2 separate regions of the Homo sapiens genome follow, and region 1 is linked to region 2. The links are contacts of gene promoters, found by promoter capture Hi-C in human tissues and cell types (Jung and others, 2019). All regions are on one chromosome and are shown on one strand. Each heading gives the region's core, a stretch centred on a gene start or on the middle of the fragment in contact. The rest is flanking DNA. Distances are from core to core; before and after follow the strand shown.

The links. Contacts are between HindIII fragments. The study calls those that stand out against the background at their distance.
Region 1: the fragment with the promoter of NOP14 here is called in contact with the fragment with the promoter of LETM1 in region 2 in 2 of the 25 tissues and cell types used here (dorsolateral prefrontal cortex and spleen).

The regions. Positions count from the first base shown.
Region 1 is chr4:2,959,788-2,965,304 of GRCh38, reverse strand. NOP14 (NOP14 nucleolar protein) reads left to right here and starts at 1,899. Exons shown (of 18, transcript NM_001291978.2): 1 at 1,899-2,180. The coding sequence starts at 1,986. GRK4 (G protein-coupled receptor kinase 4) reads right to left here and starts at 1,734. Exons shown (of 16, transcript NM_182982.3): 1 at 1,183-1,734. The coding sequence starts at 1,234. RefSeq lists silencers at 1,062-1,111, 1,282-1,711 and enhancers at 1,174-1,707, 1,708-2,241, 3,272-3,341. The HindIII fragment of the contact is 12,457 bases long and covers 1-5,517 here.
Region 2 is chr4:1,853,823-1,859,464 of GRCh38, reverse strand. It overlaps LETM1 (leucine zipper and EF-hand containing transmembrane protein 1), which reads left to right and starts at 3,309. Exons shown (of 14, transcript NM_012318.3): 1 at 3,309-3,596. The coding sequence starts at 3,515. RefSeq lists enhancers at 1,428-2,223, 2,893-2,962, 3,600-4,101 and silencers at 2,493-2,712, 3,113-3,672, 3,683-3,872, 4,667-4,843. The HindIII fragment of the contact is 14,961 bases long and covers 1-5,642 here.

The DNA of each region.
Region 1 (5,517 bases), core at 650-3,149, 1.1 Mb before region 2:
TTGTGGGGGTCTCCCGCTGAAGGGCTGGACCAACTGATGCTTTTGTGGCGGGATGCAGAGGACTAGAGAGACCAGCATGGGTGAAAACAGGAGGATATTTATGTTAAGGTACGCACCAGCTCAGTGGATTCACATCCAAAAAGCTGAGCCTTGAACAAAGACTAAGCAGGATTTTTATAAGCAAACTTACAGAAGCAAAACAAAGGCAGTTAATCATATAATGACAGGTCACATAATCTATAGCATAACTGATGACTTGGCATAACTTGTGGCCTTGCATAGCTGGTGGCCTTGTAGCTGCGTTGAAAGAAAAAACCAAGAACTGGCTAAACACAGATATTTGTCCTCTTTTTTTTTTTTCTTCACCCCTGCTCTGGAAGGGGGGTGTCTGGAGCCTATTCCTTTGGATTCGACTTCTCAAACAGAACAGCGTTATCTTATAACTGTCCTTAAAGTGAGCTTGCTAAGCAAAAGAAAACTTGTTCTTCTTTTCTTTTTAACCCTTGCCTTGCCACATTCTGGGCCTTGGCTTTTTCTTTTCTTGGAGTGAATGAATGCAGTACTTATTACTATTTTTAAATTTCTGCCTCACTTTAATAATGATAAAAGGCTGAATTTTTGCCAACTTGTCCATCTGTGACCACGTCGTGCTAAAGCACACTTGACACACCATAGAGCCTCAGATCAAACCTCAAAACCAAGCAGCTATGTTAAAAATAACATTGCCCTACAATCATTATCGGAAGGTTCTCGCCCAGAGTAGTTCCCAGGCTGCTATTCTTTGTCCCCCTTAAGACCATAAAGACGCCGTTCTTTTTTGGTGGGACAGGTTGTCCAACACAAGCAGGACACTGCCTGCCGCATCCTGAAGCAACACTGTCACCGAGGTCACACCGAGAGGACAGGACAAGGACACAGGGCAAGACTAAGAAGAGCAAAGCGCAGACTTCTCTCATCTGGGCCAGGAGATGGGGACTGGGACCTGGCCCGGGCAGCCTGACCACACTGCACAGACCCCGGCTCCGGCTCCGTGCAGATCTGGGTTCCCCCAGTGGGAGGTGTCGGGGCTCTCCAGGGAAATCGGGGTTCTCCGGGGATGTCGGGTTCCTTCAGGGGGGCCAGGGTTCCCCGGGATTCGGGGTTCTCTGGGGGGGGGGTCGGGGGCGCCTGCCGCGCACCCACCTTGACGCGCTTTCAGCAGCAGCGAGTTGGCCACGATGTTCTCGAGCTCCATGTCCTGGCGCCGCCGCCGCCGGCGGATTCTGCGAGACCGAGGAGACTGAGGAGGCGGAACAGGAGGAGACGCCGCCGCCCCCGTGCATAGCTCGCCGGGCACCACCCTCTCCTCGAGCTCCGGACACGATCCCGGGAGGCTGCTCCGCCGCCACCACTGCCACCAAGGGCGCCGCCGCCGCCGCCTCCGCAGGCCCTCACCAGCAGGGGAGCGGTCGGGGCGAGGGGAGGGGGCAGCCCGACCGCGGCGGGTCCCAGCTGTCACCGCTGCCGCGCTATCGCCCCGGTTCTTCTTGGCCCCATCGCCCTCGCCTCGCGCGCGCAACTCCCTCCTCAGTGCCCTGCCCCCGGGCAGCCCCGAGTCAATGCCGTGGCTCACTTCGGACAGGGGCTCACTGGCAGGGGCGCCCGCCGCGGCCGGCGACCCGCTCCCGGGCGGGCTCGGCGCTAACGGCTTAGCTGAAGAGGGAGCGCCCCTCGCCGCCGCGGCCGGGGCACTACAGCTCCCAGAAGGCCCTGCGCCAAGAGTACACGGCGGGCCGCGGCGCGTGGCCTGCTGGGAGTTGTAGTCGCTGAGCCTATCGGCGAGTAAGCCGAGCCTGCGGGCGCGGTGTTTACTTCTCGCGAGTCGGAGGTGCTGCGCTGTTCTCGCGAGACGAGGAAGCGGTTCCGCGGCCCGGCACGTGTCTTAGGGTAGCGCGCGCCTGTCTCTCTTCGGGTCTCGGGCCCTTGGGCGCAGCGGGGCGCGCGCCATGGCGAAGGCGAAGAAGGTCGGGGCGCGAAGGAAGGCCTCCGGGGCGCCGGCGGGAGCGCGAGGGGGCCCGGCGAAGGCCAACTCCAATCCGTTCGAGGTGAAAGTTAACAGGCAGAAGTTCCAGATCCTGGGCCGGAAGACGCGCCACGACGTGGGACTGCCCGGGGTGTCTCGCGCACGGGCCCTCAGGAAGGTAAGCGGGGGGCGCACGGGGAGCCGGAAGGCAGGATCTGGACCCCACGCTGCTCTCGGCCGGCTGCGTCCTTCTCGGTGCGTCGGTTTCCTCGTTGAGCGGCACAGGCCGTGACAGGCACACGGCACTGACTTGATAGTCCGAAAGCCTCTGCTGTTCTCTGAGCTGGAGTGACCTGGAAACTCTCGCCGTCTTGGAGACCCTGCACTCGTGTTATTTCGGCGACTCCTCCAACCGGGTCAGGCCGAGTCAGTCACTTCGGGCGGCGCCCTGGACCAAGCTGCTTGTTAACCCTTCCGCGTTTACTTTGAGCTCTGCAGGTTTGGGGACGGTGGATAGGGGCTGTGTAGGATGCTGCGTTTGATGTTTCATCGGCTCTCTCCCGAAGCGCGTAACCTTGTTCCTTGGGAAGTAACTCTATGGAAACTCATTGCTTCCTAGTTTTTTTAACTTTTTTTTTTTTAAATTTTCACTGAGGAACATACATTAGCAGGTTGGTGAAAAAATTAAGGCACAGAAAGGACAAGTGCATTTCCTAAGGTCACGCACCTGGTAAGGGCTGGGCATGCATTCACATTTCAATATCTACAAAGCCTTCTTGCTACCCCGAGCGCTTCTGTTTGACCTCGCTTCTAGGTTCGGGGAGATAAAGGTAAATAAGACTTGCCCTTGCCTTCATGAGCTCCTGATCTCTGTTCATCACAGTGTGCAAGCTGGATGGTCTTTGAATCAAAACACATATTATCCTTACTGCGCGAAGACGACAGCCTGTATAATGAATAGGCAAGATAGACTTACAGCTGACTTCGATAGGAGTCCCTCATTACACACCCCCGGGCCGGGGTGGGAGAATAAGGTAGTGTGGTTCCCTAGAAGAGACACATTTGTCTTCACCACTGAAGCCTCAGTTTTCTCATTTCAAAAGTAGAGATGATAGTATACATCCTACCCCTCGTGGTGGTTTGTGAGAATTAAGTAAGATAGCACATAGAGCACACAGCAAGTGTTCTCTAAATACTGTTATTCTTAACCTTCTTGGCTTGTCGTTCGAGTCCCGCACAGTCTGGCTGTTGTCCTTGCTTCGCCTCTTGCAACTCAGTTTGTCCAAAAGGTCTGCCTTACCTCCGAAAGTCTCTAAAGGGCCAGCTCAGGTTCACCACCCAAGCTATGTAACCCAAATAGGACAGGTTGCTCAAACTTCTGGTATTGAGCAGATCCACCTCCCTGCCCTGTGCTGAAGGCCTGGGACGGGGACGGGAATTGCTGCTCCTTTTTGGATCTCCAATGCTTGGCCCTTGGAAGAAACACAAATATTTGAAGAAATCAAAGATGGAACCTGAGTGCCTTAGGAGATCCCGGTCAGGAAAAAGTGTAATAGTTAGGAAAGTCCAAAAATTCTTCTAGAGGGAGTTACAGTCAAGTTTTGCAAGGGGAGTGAGCTGTTCATGGGCCCAGGGTGGGCAGAGGACACACATGCAAAGGCACATTGTCCCGGTATGGTGAAGTGTGGCACTCACAGCTGTCTGAGGGACAGCAGGTCGTCCAGTTGACTCCAAGCTTGATAACGCGTGTAGGGGCCGTGAGGCCGGCGCAGGAGGCCTGGGTCTTTTCATGTGGGTTAGTCCCTTAGAAGTAAACAGGCTGCCTCAGTTGGCTTCTCCCCTCTGGTCAGTTGTAGCACTCTGAGGCACTCAGTCTGGCAGGAAGAGGGCAGCCCCCAGGTGCCAGTCTCAGGACATTGCTTTATAGCTGTGCCTCAGTTTCCTTATTTCTGAAATAATTTATAAAATAAGTTATATTAATGTAGTTCTTAAATCAGTAACTATATTAATATAGTTACTATATATTAATATACTAACTATATTATTAATATAGTTACTATATATTAATATACTAACAATATTAATATATTAATATATTATTATAATATTAGCATATTAATATATTATTGTAATAGCATATTAATATATTATTATATTAGTATATTAATATATTATTATAATATTAATATATTATTAAAATATTAATATATTATTATAATATTAATATAGTATTAATATAATATTGATGTAGTATTAATATAATATTGATATAATATTAATATAATAATATTGATATAATATTAAAATAATATCGATATAATATTAATATAATATTGATATAATATTAATATAATAATATTGATATAATATTAAAATAATATCGATATAATATTAATATAATATTGATATAATAATATAATAATAATGTAATTATAATATTAATATATTGATAATGTGATTATAATATTAATATATTGATAATGTGATTATAATATTAATATATTAATATTAATGTGATTATAATATTAATATATTAATATTAATGTGATTATAATATTAATATATTAATATTAATGTGATTATAATATTAATATATTAATATTAATGTGATTATAATATTAATATAATATTAATATAATAATATATAGTAACTATATTAATAATATAGTTACTGGTCCCTTACAGTTGGTCAGGCCTTGTGCCACACGGTTTACATTTAATCCTCACCGTTATGAGGGGGAAGTACTGTTATCCCCATTTTATGCCGTAAATTCCATATGATGTCACAACATCTATATAGTTTAAGAAAGAAAGAGAATCACAATAATGTAGAATAACTCATATTACGTATTTATAGCCTAAGGGCTGTTCTTCACTAAGATTTACCCATAGAATCATATTCCAGATAATGAGAACTAATATTTTTAGAGGCAGAGATGGCTGATGCCTGCCCCATCTACCCCCTTCCTGCTAGAAGCCAGTGACACTCCCTCCCTCTGCAGGGACAGACCTCAGAAGTCTTCTCGGTGTATGCTGGGTTTGGTGGCTCACACCTGTGATCCTAGCACTTTGGGAGGCCGAGGCAGGCAGATTGCCTGAGCTCAGGAGTTCGAAACCAGCCTGGGCAACACGGTGAAACCCCATCTCTACTAAAAATACAAAAAAATTAGCTGGGCGTGGCAGCGTGCGCCTGTAATCCCAGCTACTGGGGAGGCTGAGGCAGGAGAATTGCTTGAACCCGGCAGGTGGAGGTTGTAGTGAGCTGAGATTGTGCCACTGCACTCCAGCCTGGGCGACAGAGCGAGATTCCATCTTTAAAAAAAAAAAAAAAGGTCTCAGTGTAGCATGCAAGCAGCCTCTGTCCGTACAGAGTTCATCGAGCAGTACAGGCTAGCACATGTAATGTGCTCCCATCTGATTGCCAGCTAGACCTTGTGATTTAAATAGTGAGATGTTGTTTTAAAATTTTGCTCTGCGGATAAAGAATGGTGAAGGTTCAGAGAGCTTAACCTGAT
Region 2 (5,642 bases), core at 2,060-4,559:
CATCATACTTCCCAGCAAATCCCCAATCTGGGCAAATGCAACTCTGGCTGCTTTTCACCAGAGCATGGGTCAAGTGCAGCACACAACCCTTCTAAGTCTTCCTCTAGTTCGCTAACTGGTTCCCTAAGCTCCCTAACTAGATCCCTAACTTCCTCCCTAACTAGATCCCTAGCCCCCCTTCCCTAACTAGATCCCTAAACCCCCCAACTAGGTCCCAACCCCAACTAGGTCCCTAAGCTGCCTGACTAGTCCCTAGCCCCCTCCCTAACTAGATCCCTAACCGCCCTCCCTAACGGGATCCCTAACCTCCCTAACTGGGGCCCGTGTGCTGCCTGGGCTTCCTGCCCTGTTTCTCTACTGTCACTTGTATATACACCGAGTGACTATGGAAGGTTATATGTGATTTGTGAGGAACATAGGGAGAAGGAAAAGGAAGTTTCCCCAACCAAAAAAAAAAAAAGAAGAGAAAAAGGCTAAAAACAGTGCTTGCTATTAAACCACTGCGCCATGGTTCTGTGCCCTTGTTCTGCTGCATATGGAGATGTGGGACTGGAAGGCCTCATTCCAGCCTTAAGGGTGCACAGTCAGCTGGCTGGATGCCAGATTTCTACTTATTTCTTTTGACCTATTTTTTTTTTTTTTTTTTGCGACAGTCTCGCTCTGTCACCAGGCTGAAGTGCAGTGGCACAATCTTGGCTCACTGTAACCTCTGACTCCCTGGTTCAAGCAGTTCTCCTGCCTCAGCCTCCCGAGTAGCTGGGATTACAGGCATGCACCATAATGCCCAGCTAATTTTTGTATTTTTAGTAGACAGGGTTTCACCATGTTGGCCAAGCTGGTCTCGATCTCCTGACCCCGTGATCAGCCCGCCTCGGCCTCCCAAAGTGCTGGGATTACAGGTGTGAGTTACTGCGCCTGATCACAGCTATTTTAATTGTTGAAAATTTATCTAAGATCCCACCCTGCCTGGGCTGCACGAGCATCGCAGACAGCACCTGCCTGTGTCAGTCCTGCTGTTGGCTCTCCGCTGCCAGGCTTTCCTTGTTCTGGTCCAGGGATGGTGGGTCATCCCAACTGCAGGCGAGGGTATGTTCCACATTTCCTCACACCCAGCACTTTGGGCAGGGTGGAGACTGCGGGGAGGGCTTCCCTCCTCTTTCAGTGTCATTCAAAGTCCTGTAAACAGGCACTAGCACAGATGGGGCAGTCACCACCTCCTGCCTGGCCTTGCCGGGACACCTGGGACCCCACAGCATTAACGAGAGGAGCACTGTTTCTTGCACCCTCTCCGGGGTCACCCTCCCTAGCCAGCATCGGGCAGGGTCATCTGGTGCTCAGAACCAATGTCCAGACCAGGACTAGGACATACAGTCCTACAGCTGGGCCATAAAAAGTCCTACAGCTGAGCCATAAAAAGTCCTACAGCTGGGCCATAAAAAGTCCAGTTCTTTCTGACCCTGACCAACTGTCCACTCCAGCTCAGGTCCAACCCTGGGTGGGGAGGCAAGGACTATCCTTCTGTATCCCCCTCTTGCCTCCTGGGGGATGGGTGGAAAAGGGGCCCCTTCATGTCTGTTGGCAGCACAGGCCTAGGTTCAGGCCTAGTTGTGCTTAAACTCTGTCTGCATTTGATGTCTGCAGTGCCCACTGACCGGTGTGGACACAGGGACTTACAGACGGCTTCAAAGTGCCCTGCACTAAACAATGCCCCCTTCTCCCACTGAGATGGGGAATTCAAGCCCATCCAGGCCCAGTACCTGGCAGTTCCTGATGGGGAAAACCACCCAGGCAAGCAGGCTACGTTTTCCTGACGGGTGAGGACCGACTGCATGGACAGCAGGGGCAGAGGGGACCCTGGGGAGGGAGCCTCCTAGGGAGATGTGCCATTCAACCAGCCTCTCAAGACTGGGGAGCTGGCTGGCATCAGGCGTTTCACACCCCATGCGCTCCAGGGAACAGAGATGCTGAGTGTGCACTACAAGACCCTCCCCAGGCGGTGCCCTGAGGTGCCGCGGAGAAGCAGGAGGAGGCAGGTTACATCCCTGAACAAGACAGAGGGCAGGGCAAGTGCTGTGCTGGGGATCTCCTAGCTGGAGATCTCCACCAGCTGGGCCCCCAGCGCCGCAGGTCCCCATTTTTCTCCCTGCCTGCTTTCTCTGCCCCAACTCAGGGATCCTCATCTTAGGGAAGGAAGGGGAAGGTGGAGCTCAGAGGTCACGGTCTGCTGGGAGGCTGCACGGTCTCTCTCCCCTGGACTGGTCAGGGCCGGCTATTAAACTGGGCTGGGGGGAGGCTCCTGGGAGACGGCGCATGAGCGGTCCGCGAGCCCAGCCCAGCTCTGGCGGGAATTCTGGAGACTTCGAGCCAGGTCCTTGGCGTCCTGGGCTTCGGCTGTTCCTTCTTGGACTGGGAAGTGGAGCGGACAGGGTATGGCCCAGGTTAGGAAGTCTGGCGCTCTTGCGGCGCGCGGGACCCCAGGGGCTGCTTAGGCCAGAGCGAAACGAGGGGTCCCCCCGCGCCAACGCAGGACCCATATCTACCCCTCCCGCTCAGACGGGAGGACGCGGTGTGCCGGGATGGGGGGCCGCTATGCTGGCTGCGCCGCCACCCGGCCTAGTGCCCTCGCCTCCAGGGGCCGGCATGGCCCTGTCCTTCGGGGCGGGACCCTGCGCTCCCGTCCCCCCAGTGGTGACGGGGACTCCCGACGCCGAGCAGCGCCGTATCTGGGGAGCGCCGCCCGGTACGCAGGGAAGAGGCACTCAGAGCTGCGCGCGCCAGAGTGCAGACCGCCGAGGGCAGAGCCACAGAGCAGGGGGGCCGGCGAGGGACCGCGGCCGAGGGCGTCGAGGGCGCCCCTCCATCCCCAGCGTCCCCTGACTTGCCCTTGGAGCCCCAAGCTCCCAGGAGCCGTTTTCTACTCGTGGGTGCAGGACTTAGTCCCAGAAAAGTTCCGGACACACGCGCTGCTGCCGCCGCCCGGAGACGAAAAGACACTCCCCGCGCAAGCGCGGCCGACTCCCTCAGCTCCTGCGGCCGCCACGCTGCGAGCCCCGGCGTCCACGGTACGACGGGAACCAGGATGCAGCGAGCCCCAGGAGCCAGCCGCCCCGGTGCACGCCGGGACCGGTAGTCCGCGCCTCAGGGTAGTCCGCCGCTCCGGTGCACGCCGGGATCGGTAGTCCGCACCCCAGCGTGCAGGCCGTCCCGGTGCACGCCGGAACCGGTAGTCCGCGGTGGCGCGGTCCGCCCCTCACCTGGCCAGCGGCGGGCGCTGAGGGGCCCAATGGGAGCCGCGGCCTGGCCGCCCCGCCCCGCGCCTCCGGACGTCTGTGCCGGGACAAGGCCGCCGCTGGTGCCGGGTCCTTGAGGAGAGCGCCTCCCGTCCGAGGCCAGCCGCCTCTGTCAGCCGTCCGCGCGGGCCGGGTCTGAAGCGCCGCCGGGACGGCGAAGAGCCGCGGCCGCCGCGGAGAAGGAGGCAGCGCAGGAGGCCGGAGCGGCCGCCGCGCCCGAGCACATGGCGTCCATCTTACTGAGGAGCTGCCGCGGCCGGGCGCCCGCCCGCCTCCCGCCGCCGCCTCGGTACACCGTCCCGCGGGGTAAGCGGCGGGCACCCCAGGGCGGGGCCGGCTCCCGGCTGGTGGGTCGGGAGCGCGGACGACCCGCGGGTTCGGGCTGGTTGTCACGGCGATGCGGGGAGCCCGGTGGTCCCGGCCTCCGGAGCCCCTGCGGGACCGTGGGGCCCCGGGTCTCGTCGCGGGCTGGGCCGCCAGCGCCGGGCGGAGCCGCTGGGCCTCTGCCGTGTGTTGTGACCTTAGGCGGCCGGGTCCCCCGGGTCACTGCCTCAGAGACAGTGGGAAAATTCTGAAGGGCTGGGCAGCCCTGGCGCGCCCTGCGCGAGTAAGCTTGGTGGAACGTGTCCACGCACGAGGACGGCCGTGCCCTTTGGTCACGTTTGGGGTCCCGGAGACGAGACTGGGTGGGCAGGGCAGACACCGGCGAGCAGGACCTGCTGGGCTGCAGGAGCCTTCCTGGTCCGTCACTGATGAGGTGATGCCAGCACCTACAAACCCCTGTGGTGTGATTAGGCCGCGACCGGCACCCGGGGAACACGGGGACTCCGGAGCCGCTGAGGGTCCTCAGGGTGCGTGGCTTTAGCCCCCCTAGCCTCAGGTGCTGTCTGGAGTGAATGCTGTCCCAGGGTGTGCCCACCTCCTCTCTCTCTCTAATTAACCAACTTATTTGAGTCTATGTCCTTATTTGTAAAATTGGAATAAACATAAAACTTGCTAAGAGGGACTCAAGTAAAATAATTAGTGCAGTGGTGCGATCATACTCACTGCACCTCAAACTCCTGGGCTCAAGCTATCCTTCTGCCTCAGCCTCCCAAGTTGTTAGTTGTGCCACACAACACCCAGCTAATTTTTTTTTTTGTAGTTTTTTTGTAGAGACAGGGTCTTGGTATGTTGCCCAGCCTGGTCTTGAACTCCAAGGCTCAACTGATCCTCCTGCTTTGGCCTCCCAAAGTGCTGGGATTACAGGAGCCACCATGCCCAGGCACCCAGCTTCAATATTCTTGTCTCTGTTCCCCACCCCCAAAGAGATAGATTGAAGTTGCCCTGAATGTATCCTCCCAATTCTTGTTTTTTTTTGTTTGTTTGTTTGTTTGTTTTTAAAGACAGAGTCTCAATCTGTTGCTCAGGCTAGAGTGCAGTGGTGTGATCTTGGCTCACTGCAACCTCCACCTCCTGGGTTCAAGTGATTCTCTTACCTCAGCCTGCCGAGTTGCTGGAATTATAGGCACCCGCCATCACGACTGGCTAATTTTTGTATTTTTAGTAGAGACTGTTTTCTCCGTCTTGGCCAGGCGGGTCTCGAACTCCTGACCTCAGGTGATCCACCCACCTCGGCCTCCCAAAGTGCTGGGATTACAGGCGTGAGCCACCGCGCCCGGCCCCCAATTCTTGTAATTTTTTTTTTTTTTTTTTGAAATGGAGTCTCGCTCTGTCATCCAGGCTGGAGTGCAGTGGCATGATCTCGGCTCACTGCAACCTCTGCCTTCCAGGTTCAAGCGATTCTCCTGCCTCAGCCTCCTGAGTAGCTGGGATTACAGGCGCACACCCTCATGCCTGGCTAATTTTTGTATTTTTAGTAGAGATGGGGTTTCACCATGTTGGTCAGGCCGGTCTTGAACTCCTGACCTCGTGATCCACCCACCTCAGCCTCCCAAAGTGCTGGGATTACAGGCGTGAGCCACCTCGCCTGGCCAATTCTTGTAATTTTTACAATAATGGCTGGTTAGCCACTGAAACTTTTGGAGTGGTGAGAGGATGTTGAGTGGTGGAACTGCACAGTCTGAAGGTGGAGCTCAGCATGTGGTCTTTCCAGTTGCTGTGTTAGATGTTAGAGCTCTCTCTGGACCTCTTGATGGTGATAAAAGTACTTTTAACACTTCGTGCTTATTATCAGATTTTTGATAAATAATAATAATAATTAGCTTTTTATGTGCGATTCTGTCATTTCAGGAACACAAATGTCTTCTGTAGTTACTACTGTGCTTTGTGACAGGGACACTGGCAGGTCTGCTGTAGAAACAGTAGGGATTTCAGAGCCAGCGAGACCCAGGGCTGGACTGTGGAGGAGGT